Linked DNA regions of Homo sapiens: region 2 is linked to region 1. Evidence: promoter capture Hi-C in human tissues and cell types (Jung and others, 2019). All regions are on one chromosome and are shown on one strand. Each heading gives the region's core, a stretch centred on a gene start or on the middle of the fragment in contact. The rest is flanking DNA. Distances are from core to core; before and after follow the strand shown. Region 1 holds the start of FAM221A (family with sequence similarity 221 member A). Region 2 overlaps PALS2 (protein associated with LIN7 2, MAGUK p55 family member).

Evidence for each region. The method cuts DNA at HindIII sites, captures the fragments that hold promoters and counts their contacts. A contact is called where the count stands out against the background at its distance.
Region 2: a contact is called between a fragment that was not itself captured here and the fragment with the promoter of FAM221A in region 1, in 1 of the 25 tissues and cell types used here (H1 embryonic stem cells).

Annotation. Positions count from the first base shown.
Region 1 is chr7:23,676,725-23,682,477 of GRCh38, forward strand. It overlaps FAM221A (family with sequence similarity 221 member A), which reads left to right and starts at 3,475. Exons shown (of 7, transcript NM_199136.5): 1 at 3,475-3,559. The coding sequence starts at 3,495. RefSeq lists a silencer at 3,409-3,698 and an enhancer at 4,029-4,278. The HindIII fragment of the contact is 14,044 bases long and covers 1-5,753 here.
Region 2 is chr7:24,667,584-24,674,312 of GRCh38, forward strand. It overlaps PALS2 (protein associated with LIN7 2, MAGUK p55 family member), which reads left to right. Exons shown (of 12, transcript NM_001303037.2): 9 at 916-1,077. Among named protein-coding and RNA genes, the nearest start is that of GSDME, 87 kb to the right of the region's middle. The HindIII fragment of the contact is 3,281 bases long and covers 1,233-4,513 here.

The sequences.
Region 1 (5,753 bases), core at 2,225-4,724:
ATATAAACCAAAGGTAGTATAGGCCTTGGTTGAATTCTAATTAGTATAAAATTAGATGACACTAATTATCATCTAATAAATTAGGTTTATTAGATGATATCTAATAGATGATATCTAGGCTGGGTATTCTTAGATGATATCAAGGAATTATTGTTTAATTTGTTAGGTGTGATAATGGCATTGTGGATTTTAAAACAAGTTATTGGCCGGGCGTGGTAGCTCATGCCTGTAATCCTAACACTTTGGGAGACCGAAGCGGGCAGATCATGAGGTCAAGAGATTGAGACCATCCTGGCCGACATGGTGAAACCCCGTCTCTGCCAAAAATACAAAAATTAGCTGGGCGTGGTGGTGCGCGTCTGTAGTCCCAGCTACTCAGGAGGCTGAGGCAGGAGAATCGCTTGAACTCAGGAGGTGGAGTCTGCAGTGAGCTGAGATCATGCCACTGCACTCCAGCCTGGTGACAGAGCGAGACTCCATCTCAAAAAAAAAAAAAACCCAAAAAACAAAAAACGAAAAAACAAGTTATCTGTTGGAGATACATACTGAATAATTATCTTTCTTGTCTTGTAGCTATCAACTGTCAAACCATTAAGACAATAAGAATCAGGCTGATCAGGATTAAGAATGACTGAGAGAAGATTGCAGAGACTTAGACTTTAAGCTGGGTGCAGTAGCTGGTTGAGATTTTGGGACTGCCTTACTTAGAGGTCTGATGAATGCCTTTAGTGTGCAATGCCTGCATGGGAAGAAGGGCATGCATGGATATTAATCAGTTTAAGGATAAGCTGTCACCAACCATGTTTCTTGGTGAACTAAACACATTTTTAACCCAACACACATTTCTTTTTTTCTTTTTTTTGAGATGGAGTTTCACTCTTATCACCCAGGCTGGAGTGCAATGGCGCCATCTCAGCTCACTGGAACCTCTGCCTCCTGGGTTCAAGCAATTCTCCTGCCTCAGCCACCCCAGTAGCGGGAATTACAGGCATGAGCCACCACACCTGGCTAATTTTTGTATTTTTAGTGGAGATGGTGTTTCACCATGTTGGCCAGGCTGGTCATGTACTCCTGACCTCAGGTGACCCACCTGCCTTGGCCTCCCAAAGTGCTGGGATTACAGACATGAGCCACCGTGCCCTGCCCCAACACACATTTCTAACCCTCTCCTTGACAATTGCCATCATAGAGCCTGGAAAACTAAGTACTGGATTGGCTTTCCCAGTTTTCTCTATACCAAGGTGTGGCCATGTGAGACATAAATGAAAATTTTTTTGCAGAGGCCTCTAGGAAAACTCTTTGATAAAAGAAACAAATGATGTTGGTGGCCCTCCTTTTTCCTTTCTTGAATTTGGGTATGATTTCTGGAGTTGTAACAGCTCTTGCAACCATGAGGAAAATGCTCTAAACCAATGTGAGCAACTACCTACCCCCACTCTTCTTTAAAGCAATAAAAAATAAAATTTATGTTTAATTAAGCCACTGTTAGTTGAATTATTCTGTTATTTTCAGAAGAAAGCATTCTTAACCTATACATCACAGCAAAATGCTGGCAAATCCTATCTCATAAACTTTCATGAGGATTGAATAAATAAAATGCCTAACACTTGCCTAGGCAATTTACATGTTCCTCTGTCCACCCTACTTCCTAGATCAATTTAGCTACACATTGGGAGGAAGTTATAGTTTGATTATACCTTTTTATTAAAGCAGAGGTGAGTACCATATACAGTATTTTAATTTGCAAATCTGTCAGCTTTATGTAAGGTCAGGATAACATTTTCTAGTTTGTTCCATACTCTTATTCGTCACGCTCAATATTTTTGTTGACTTCTTTGGCCAGAAGAGTTTACTGCTCCAGCATCTTCCTGGAAGAGTCCACAATTGGGCTAAATCTATTTTAACCATTTCCCTCTAGATTTTTAAATTGTACTTGCCTACACAGACATTCCCCTGCCACTTTTCTGTAAGCCTGCAGAGCCTGGCATTTTCTTCTATTTTTCTTTGTTAGTTCAGTTGCTGCCTAAAAGCAAGACTAGGCTCTCATAGAGGTAGAATGGGGCTGGGCGTGGTGGCTCACGCCTGTAATCCCAGCACTTTGGGAGGCTGAGGCGGGCAAATCACGAGGTCAGGAGATCAAGACCAGCCTGGCCAACATGGTGAAACCCTGTCTCTACTAAAAATACACACACACACACACACACAAAAGCCAGGCGTGGTGGCTAGTGCCTGTAATCCCAGCTACTCAGGAGGCTGAGGCAGGAGAATTGCTTGAACCTAGGAGGCAGAGATTGCAGTGAGTCGAGATCCCGCCACTGCACTCCAGCCTTGGAGACGGAGCAAGACCCCATCTGGGAGGTGTCGGGTGGAAGAGGTAAAATGGACAGCAGCAAACCACACGTGTGATAGGAGAGAATACTGAGCTGAGATCAGTTTCCTAAAATATGAATCCGATTTCAGGATCACTCATTTATCTGACTGTCAAGAACGCCTCTGAACAGGAGGAAGACTTTGGGGAGAGGGTGGGGTTTGTTGAAAGGGTACCGAGAAGGGAGGTGGGTGGTACCCAAACAATTTGTTTACATAATGTTTTATGGACCTGAAATATGTAGAACAGTACTTTGAAACTAAAGTACTGTACTGAAGTTTAATTATTTTTCTTATTGTTTGCATATTCTCCCTCCCAGATACTTTACAGAGGGCGCTAAAGCTGATCCCCTGGGAGCTTCAGAGTTTAATGACTTCGCCTGAAGATTTCCTATTCTTTTCCACAACGTGCTAAGTCAAATTATGGCCAAATTACCAATCGCATGGTAATTCAGCTTCTAAATATATTTTGCAGAGTGTTTCCAAAAGTTAAAAAACAACAACAAAACTTCACCTAAATTGTTTTTACTTGCTTCACCTTAAATCAGTTATTCGGTTCCTTTGAAGAACATGTAGCTTTAGCAACCCCCAAAGTGAACCCAGATACCCAGGACTACTGATTGTTACATCAGAGTTTTTGAAAACGCCAATACTGGAAACAGGCCGACAGTTAAGGAGAGGCAGGCCTCAAACTAAAGCAGAACCTTCTCAAAACTACTTATATTTCAAGAGATGGATTAAGCGAAAAGAGCTGTACAAAGAAATAAGCCATTTTCTATGCGCCTGTTATATGCAAGGCACTGCACTCCCTTGTCACTTGTTAATTTACAAGAAGACTCGCCGGTCCAGGGAAGGGAGAGGGGAATAGGTGCAAGGTTTGTGGAGGGCGGCAAACTGCACTCCATGTGGCGCGAGGCTGCGCTTGCGGAGATCCGGGTTCTGGTGCCTGGCGCCGGCAGCCAGTAGGGGCGCGCGTCCTGCGCAGTTGCCGCGCGCGGCCTCCTCGGGCTTCAGGCCGGGCCAATCAGGAGGCGGGCGGGAGGGGGCGCGGTACCGGGAGGGAACGGGGCGGGTCGGGCTTCGAGGTCAGCTGGTCCGCAGGGAAGCCTTTGGCTTCCCCACCGGCAATGGAGCGGTTGACGTTGCCTCTCGGCGGCGCGGCGGCGGTGGACGAGTACCTGGAGTACCGGAGGTGAGGCTGTGGCTCCGGGCCTGCCCCCCCGCCGCTCCGAGGGGCCAGGATCCCTGGGCTGGGGGCGCGAGCAGGGGCCCGGCGGGCGTCCGCGGGGGTTCCCGGAATCTGTGCCTGGGCTGTTGGGGGAGGCCTAGATGAATTCCAGTTTAGTCTTTGCCTAATTAAATATTGTAGGGCCACGCGGTTCTATGCAGTGATGAGTCTTCCAATAACATTTAAGAGGCCCCTCTGCTCCCTTCCAAGAAGGATGACTAACTCTAGATTGATACAGAGGTCCAGCTGTTTTTTAAATGGCCATTGAAAACAGGCACATCGAGTACTCGGGGCTATAGAAGTTAGCATACATCAAATTAACCCAGTAATTGAGTCAACCGTGAACTTCTGAACGCGCTCCCCACCCCGAGGTGCTGGTTTTAGGAGAAAGGCACCGACTGGTGTTTGGTATTCTGGAGAAACCCCTTCCGAAACTGGAAACGGAGTCGCTCCTTTGGCCTGAGGACGCGGTTCATTGTCCTGGATCCTGACCGAGGCTGGTGCACCTGCAGCGACGCGCTCTTTTTCCGCTTCCTGGGGTTTTTGATCGTCCGGAATCTGGGCGGATGGGAAGTCCTGGAGAGGACCGCCTGAGGACGCGGAGTTGGGGCGGGAGGATGTGTGTGTACAAGCGGAGGGGAGACGCTCCAGGCTCCGCCAGGGAGGCCGGAGCGAGCGACAGGGGCTCCTCTGCGGCATCGTGGGTGGCCCAGATGACCCAGAGGTGTGCGCGCAGACGGCCCCCCAGCTGACTGTTCTCCCCTGCTCTGACTGCCCTGTTTGTGTAGTTTTGGGTAACCCTTAGAACTGCCTGGATATTCTGAGCCAGAAGAATAAGGGCTAGGAGCTTGATGGGGTCAGTTCCCACGCCCGGTTCAGGGTCAGAACAACCACCATCCCGTCCTCTCCCAGAGCAGAGCCGGCTCCTTTAGCCTCCAGTTCTCCAGAGCTTTTGCCTGGGAGCAAGTTGCTGGAGCTGGTGTTGACTGATAACTTGGATATTTAGATATGTGAATTGTGGGCCTCCAGTTGACTCTTGCCTAGCTCCGAACATGTTAGGGCAGACCTATGTATGTAGTTATTTATTTTATTGAGAAATTATTTAGTTATTTATTTTATTGAGACGGGGTCTGACTCTTTCCCAGGCTGGAGTGCAGTGGCGCGATCTCGGCTCACCGCAATCTCCGCTTCCTGGGTTCAAGTGATTCTCCTGCCTCAGCCTCCCGAGTAGCTGGGACTACAGGCGGCCAGCTAATTTTTGTATTTTCTGTAGAGACGGGATTTCACCACGTTGCCCAGGCTGGTCTTGAACTCCTGGACTCAAGCTATCCACCTGCCTCGGCCTCCTAAAGTGTTGGGATTACAGGCCTGGGCCACCGCGCCCGGCTGGGAAATTATTTTTGCAATCGTAAATAACTTGCAACACTTCCCTCTGAAAGAGATTATCAGGTCCTTTACTGACGTCAGAATTTTAGAAAAGTGGGGAAAACAGGACTTGAGTACCTAGATATGAAAAGGTGGGCTGGGAAGGTGGGGTGGGAAGATGAGTCAAAATATGAGTTTAGAAGGAAACAAACTTTCCTTCCGAAGAGTTTTCCTGGATTTGCTCTTGCCTAGGTACTTCGGTGGGAGTCGGTTGGGAGGGGAAGCATGCAGCCTTGTTACTCACACTGTGGGAGGCCCTGACCAGTGTCCTGGCATCACCTGTTAGCTTGTTAGAAAAGCAGAATCTCAGGCCCACTGCAGACCTATTATTATTATTATTATTTAGAGTCTCGCTCTGTCACCCAGGCTGGAGTGCAGTGGCACTATAATGGCTGACTGCAACCTTGACCTCCTGAGCTGAAGCGACTCTCTCTTCTCAGCCTCCTAACTAGCTAGGACTACAGGCATGCATCTCCGCACCCAGCTAATTTTAAAATTTTTTGTAGAGATGGGATCTCACTAGGATGCCCAGGCTCATCTTGAGATCCTGGCCTCAAGCAATCCTCCCACCTCAGCCTCCCAAAGTGCTGGTATTACAGGTGTGAGCCACCACATCTGGCTTTATCATGTGTGTGTGTGTGTGTGTGTGTGTGTATGTATATATATATTTATTATTATTATTATTATTATTATTATTTTTTTTTTTAGATAGAGTCTTGCTCTGCTGCCCAGG
Region 2 (6,729 bases), core at 1,623-4,122, 990 kb after region 1:
TAATAAGTTTCAGTGGATAGAATCTCTGATAAGTAAGGATAAAACATAGAATTTTTCTAGCTTGATTAGATAAATTTTTTTTTTTTTTTTTTTTTTTTTTGAGACGGAGTCTTGCTCTGTCACCAGGCTGGAGTGCAGTGGCGCAATCTCGTCTTACTGCAGTCTCTGCTTCCTGGGTTCAAGTGATTCCCCTGCCTCAGCCCCCTGAGTAGCTGGGACTACAGGCGCACACCACCACGCCTAGCTAATTTTTTGTATTTTTTTAGTAGAGACGAGGTTTCACCATGTTGGCCAGGATGGTCTCAATCTCTTGACCTCGTGATTCGCCCACCTCGGCCTGCGAAAGTGCTGGGATTACAGGCATGAGCCACCATGCCCAGCCCGATTAGACAAATTTTTAAGGGCAAATGGATGGAACCAGATGTTTAAAGCAAGATATAAAATAATTTACTGGGGCAGGCACAGTGGCTCATGCCTATAATCCCAGCACTTTGGGAGACTGAGGCAGCAGGATCATTTGAGGCCAGCAGTTTGAGACCAGCCTGGGCAACATAGCAAGATCCCATCTCTACAAAAAAAAAAATTAAAAATTAGCTGGGTATAATGGCTCATACCTGTGGTTTCATTTACTCGGGAGGCTTCATTGAGCCCAGGAGTTCAAGGGTACAGTGAGCTAAGATTGCACCACTATACTCTACCCTGGGTGACAGTGAGCCCCGGTCTTAAAAACAATAATAAAATAATTATTATTTATTGTACTTTACCAAATTTGTAAAAACAAATCTATGCTAAGTGGGTACAAGTCAAGTGATATTTAACTATCAAGACAGCTAAGCCATTACTAGACAGAATTGCAGAGATTTCTTTCATGTATATAAAAGTTGACTTTGTATTCCCATTTCCTTTTTCATTTAGAATTTGATCGTCATGAAATCCAGATATATGAGGAGGTAGCCAAAATGCCTCCCTTCCAGAGAAAAACATTAGTATTGATAGGAGCTCAAGGTGTAGGCCGAAGAAGCTTGAAAAACAGGTTCATAGTATTGAATCCCACTAGATTTGGAACTACGGTGCCATGTAAGTTTTCTGTGTTTTCCTTGCTATGCAATTGGCAGGAAAGAGTATGGGCATATGGAGGAAAGGGGGATTATTATCATTAGTTATTGTTATTCCCAAATAAGTTTTCTTTATGGCAGTGAAAGTGAACAAGTAAAAGACATTGAAAAATTTAGTAATTCTGTAGCTGTCTTGAAATAGTGCTGCAGTGCTGTTGGCTTGCTGTCTGGTGGCAAGTGCTTCTCTAAACTATTCAGTTCAGAAATGTTAGAATTAAATGCCTACATTTAAGACTCGTGGCAAGATAGGCATTTAGGATTTTCTTGTACTGATGTCTATCTAAAAAGTTGGATTTTTCAGCCATTTTAGTGTAAAGAAAAGGGGAAAGCTTCTGACCCTTGGACATACCCAGTGTGGCAACAGCTGTGTGAACTTACGTGGCCTGGCTTGTAGCTCTCAGTCATGCAAGGTCATAAACCTGATTTTTGATAGCACATAAGAGTGATTCATCTTTTACTGCAGGCAGCATTCATTAAGGTTACAGAGTCTGATGTATAGAATAAAATAGTACTGATGAGAAGTATAACCATTAAGTGAACCAAGCACTCATTTTATGGTCTTTGCATTCATTTCTCTATTTGCATATTTACATAGAAAGTTAAATAATCATGTCAGAAGTATGCTTGATGAGAATGGAATTAGATCAAGGAATTGGATGATGTTAGTGATTTACTGTAATGACTAATACACATTTGTCTCTGACTGTAGGGACTAATAAACATTTGTCTTTGTTTTTGAAATACGTGGATCTTTACTTGTGAACTTAGATGTTCTCTCCCTTGAAGAAAGCAGGAGATAAGCTAACATTGCTTTCATTCCCATTGCTGTGCTTCTATTTCTGACCAAGCCCCCTTTTAACATGGCATTCCTTTAGGTATATTAATGCCTTTAAGCTATTTTGAGTCAAATCCTAGGCTAACTTTAACCCTATCTCTTTTAATTGAATTTTAGAGTTTCCCTGGTTTTGTCCAGTATATTTTGGGTTTAATTCTCAGTGAGTACTCTTATTGCTAAAATTCTTAAAAGTTAGGGAAATAGCCTTGTCATTGCCCCCCTGTGCTACTTATAATCCCTTCAGTGTAAATCTTCTGATTCTACTGCAGGCATTGTAAATCACTAAATTTAGACAAATCCTACTAAAGTGGTTAACAGAACAAAAACTTCACTGTAATCAACGTATGTTAAAGCTGCACTTGTGAAGTAAAAAGTTTTTCGCTTTTATCAAATTCATATGTGCCCAATATTTTTAGCAAGTAGTTCTTAAAGACATATAATGGGGAAAAAAATAACCCCTTCTCTTCCCCTGCCTCACTTATGAAAAACAGTCACTTTTCATTGTTTTTGCTATTTCTTTTGGTTGTGTTCCATATTTCTTAATAATGTCTTTAGTCTGCTGTTTCCTGCTTTATGCAGTTTAGGCCTTATCTGTTGACTTCCTGACTGTCCTTCCAATATAAAGATAGCTGTATTTTCAGTTAGTTCAATTTCACTTTCTTGAACAGCCCTTTCCCCTTCTGTGACCCAGGAATCTCTGGAGTTCTGTTTTTCTTTATACTACCTGATTTTATATATATATGTGTATACAGTTTTTTGTTGTTTTTTAAACTAAAGACTTGTTTATCCAGTAAGTCAGGTTCTTTTTTTTTTTCCTGGAGACCTCTGTCTCAGAACCCTCTGTCTTTCTGCTTCAATGAGGACTACATGCTGTCTCTCTGGCTGCCCAGCTGTTAACACTGGAGTAGTTCCCTTTGTTGTTATCCTGGGTTGAAGCTGTTGTTCCTGGATCCCATTCTTTCTCTTTCTTGGTTTATCACCTTGTTTTGCTGGGGTACATCCTCTTGTATGTGGAATGTAATGTCTGCATCTTTGTGTTTTAAAATGTATATTTTCTGCCCTTTATTTGACTAATTAGCAGAGAATAGAATTCTGGATTGTAAAATTCAAAAGCTGTTACAACGTCTTCATCATCGCCAAAAGAATCTCTGTACCCATTTCCCACCAACTTCCTCACCCCCTGCTGCCAGGAGCAATCATGAATCTTTCTGTCAAAATAGATTTGCTTATTTTGGACATTTTATATACTGGAGTTATACAATATGTGGTGTTTTGTGACTGGCTTCTTAACATGTCAGATCTCATCTGCATTGTAGCATTTATCAGTACTTATTTTCTTTTCCTTGCTAAGTGATTATTATATGGCTATACCACATTTTATTTATATATTCATCAGTTGATGGACATTTGGACTGTTTTATTTTTAGCTATTGTGAATAATGCTACACTCAGCATTTGTATACAGGTATTTGTGTGGACATATGCCTGTTTCTCTTGGGTATATACCTTGGAATGGAATTTGTAGGTTATATGATGACTGTATGTTTAGCCTTTAGAAGAACTTCCACACTGTTTTCCACAGCAGCTGTGTATATACCCTTCACAATCCCAGCAGCATATGAAGTTTCCAGTTTCTCTACATCCTCACCAACATTTGTCATCTGGCTTTTTGATTGTAGTCATCCTAGTGGGTGTAAAGTTGTATCTCATTTTGGTTCTCATTTGCATTTCCCTAATGTCTGATCATGTCAAACAACTTTTCATGTACATATTTGCCATTTATATATTTTCTTTGGAGGAATGTCTGTTCAAACTGGTTGCCCATTTTTCAGTTAGGTTATTTGTCCTTTTCTTAAGCTGTAAGAGGAGGTCATATTATATTCTGGGTACAGGTTCCTTGTTAGATATGATTTGCACGTATTAATATTTTCTCTCATTCTTTGTTGACTTCTCGTGTTTTTGATGGTGTCCTTTGATATACAAAAGTTTTTCATTTTGATGAAGTCCAAATTTATATGTCTTTTGTTGCTCATGCTTTTCATATCGTATCAAGTATGGTACCATATCAAGGCTTTCCCTAACCCAAGGCCACAAAATTTTACTCCTGTATTTTATTTTAAGAGTTTATACTACTGACTCTTACATGCAGATTATATGATCAATTTTGTGTTCATTTTTGTGTCAAATGTGAGGAGGGGGTTCCAACTTTATTCTTTTGCTTGCACTTATCCAGTTGTCACAACACAATTTGTCAAAAAGAATAGTTCTTTCCTCCAGTGGATTGTCTTGCCACCCTTTTTGAAAATCAATTGATTGTAAATGTCAAGATTTATTTATAAACCCTCAGTTCTGTTCCATTAACCTAGATGTCTGTCCTTATGCCAGTCCCACATTGTCTCGATTACTGTATATTTGTATTAAGTTTCAAAACCAGGAATTGTGAACCCAACTTGTTCTTTCTTTTTCAGCTTGTTTTGGCTCTTCTGGGTTCCTGACATTTCTATATAAATTATAAGATAAGCTTCCAGTTTCTGCAGAAAAGGTAGCTAGAATTTTAAGAGGGATTATATTGAATTCTAGCTACCTTTTCTGCAGCAATTGGAAGCTTATCTTATAATTTATATAGAAATGCCAGTAACTTGGCCTTGAGGACTACTGCCATCTGTTTTGTTTTGTTTTGTTTTGTTTTGTTTTGTTTTGTTTTGTTTTGTTGAGATGGAGTCTTGCTCTGTTGCCCAGGCTGGAGTGCAATGGCATGATCTCGGCTCACTGCAGCCTCCACCTCCTGGATTCAAGCCATTCTCCTGCCTCAGCCTCCCCAGTAGCTGGGATTACAGGCACCCACCATCCTGCCTGGCTAATTTTTTTTGTATTTTTAGTAGAGACTTGCTTTCACCATGTTGGCCAGGCTGGTTTCGAACTCCTGACCTCAGGTGATCTGCCTGCCTTAGCCTCCCAAAGTGCTGGGATTACAGGTGCTATATTAACAGTATTAATTCTTCCAGTCTATGAGCATAGATGTCTCTCTGTTTATTTAGGTTTTCATTTTAATGCTGTTTATGGTTTTCATTGTACAAATATTATGCTGCTTTTGTCACATTTATTCCTGAGTATTTTTTTCTTTTTTATTCTGTAGCAAAAAGTATTTTCTTAATTTCCTTTTTGGATTGTTCCTTGCTAGTGTACAGAAATAAACTGATTTTTGTGTGTTGGCTTTGTCTTTTAGCCTTATTGACCTCATTGATTCTAATGATGATTTTTTTGTGTGGGTTCCTCAGGATTTTCTATATACAAAATCATGTCATCTGCAAATAGAGATCGTTTTACTTGTTTCTTTCCAATCTGGGTGCTGTTTATGTCGTTGTCTTGTCTACTTTCCTCAACTAGAACCTGCAGTGTAATGTGTAATAGTGTAATAGAAGTGGCAAAAGTGAACATCCTTGTCTTGTTCATGATCTTAAGGAGAAAGGAGAAAGCATTCAATCTTTCCATTTTAGCTGTGGGTTTTTCATAGATGCCTTTCATCAGATTGGAGAAGTTCCCTTCTGTTCCTGCTTTGTTGGCTTTTTACCAAGAAAGGGTACTAGATCTTGCCAAATGCTTTTTCTTTGTTAATGGTTCATATGATTTTTGTTTTTTATTGTCTTCTATTGATAGGATGTATTGCATTCATTGATTTTTATATATTGAACCAACCTTGTCTTTTTGTGGTAAATTCCATTTGGTTATGATGTGCCGTCTTTTTTTGTATACTTCTAGATTCAGTTGCTTGTAATTTGTAAGGATTTTTGCATCTATATTTATAAGGGATATTGGTCTATACATCTCATTACTTGTGATGTCATTGTCTAGCTTTGATATGGTAATTCAGGGCACATAGAATGAGTTGTGAAGTATTCTTTCCTCTTTCATTGTTTGGGAAGAGTATGTGAAGGATTAATTATAATTCTTTCAATGTTTGATGAAATTCACCCATGAAGCCATTTGACCCTGGGCTTTTCTTTGTGGGAAGTTTTGATTATTAGTTCAGTCTCTTTCCTTGTTATAGGTCAACTTGGATTTTTTTTAAAATCAGTTTCAGGATTTCTGCAGGGTTCATAGTAATGTTTTTTCTTTCATTTCTGATTTTAGAAATTTCGGTCTTCCCTCTTTTATTCTTAGTCTATGTAAAGATTTGTCAATTTGTTGATCTTTTCGGACAACCAAATTTTGCCTTTGCTGATTTTCTGTATTTTTTCTACTTTCTAATTTTTGCTATAATCTTTATTATTTTCTTTCTACTTGTACTTTGGGTTTATTTTACTCTCTGTTTTTTTAGATAGGAAATTAGATTATTGATTTGAGATCTTTTTTAACATAGGCATTCACAGCTATAAATTTCCCTCTAAGCACTTAGTTGCATCTTAAAGTTCTTGGTATGCTGTGTTTTTGTTTTCATTCATCTCAAAATACTTTTGAGTGGGTTTTTTATATATATATATAAATAGGTTCAATGATACATGTCTCTGTAGATGGCTACAGAGACTTTAAAATTGTAATCCCGAATATGCAACTATGCAACACAGACCAGTTAGCCAGATCTAAAATAATAAACTGGCTTCTTACAACAACTGTGCTGTTCCAACCCTTCTTCCCTCCACAATGACCTTAAACCTTACATGAGTACAGTTAATATGGCAGAACGGGAACCCATCTTTGTGACCAAAAGTAAAAACCGAAGAAGAAATAGCAATTCATCCATTAGTTGGGGAAAGCAAGAAATGTAGTGCCCTTCACTGT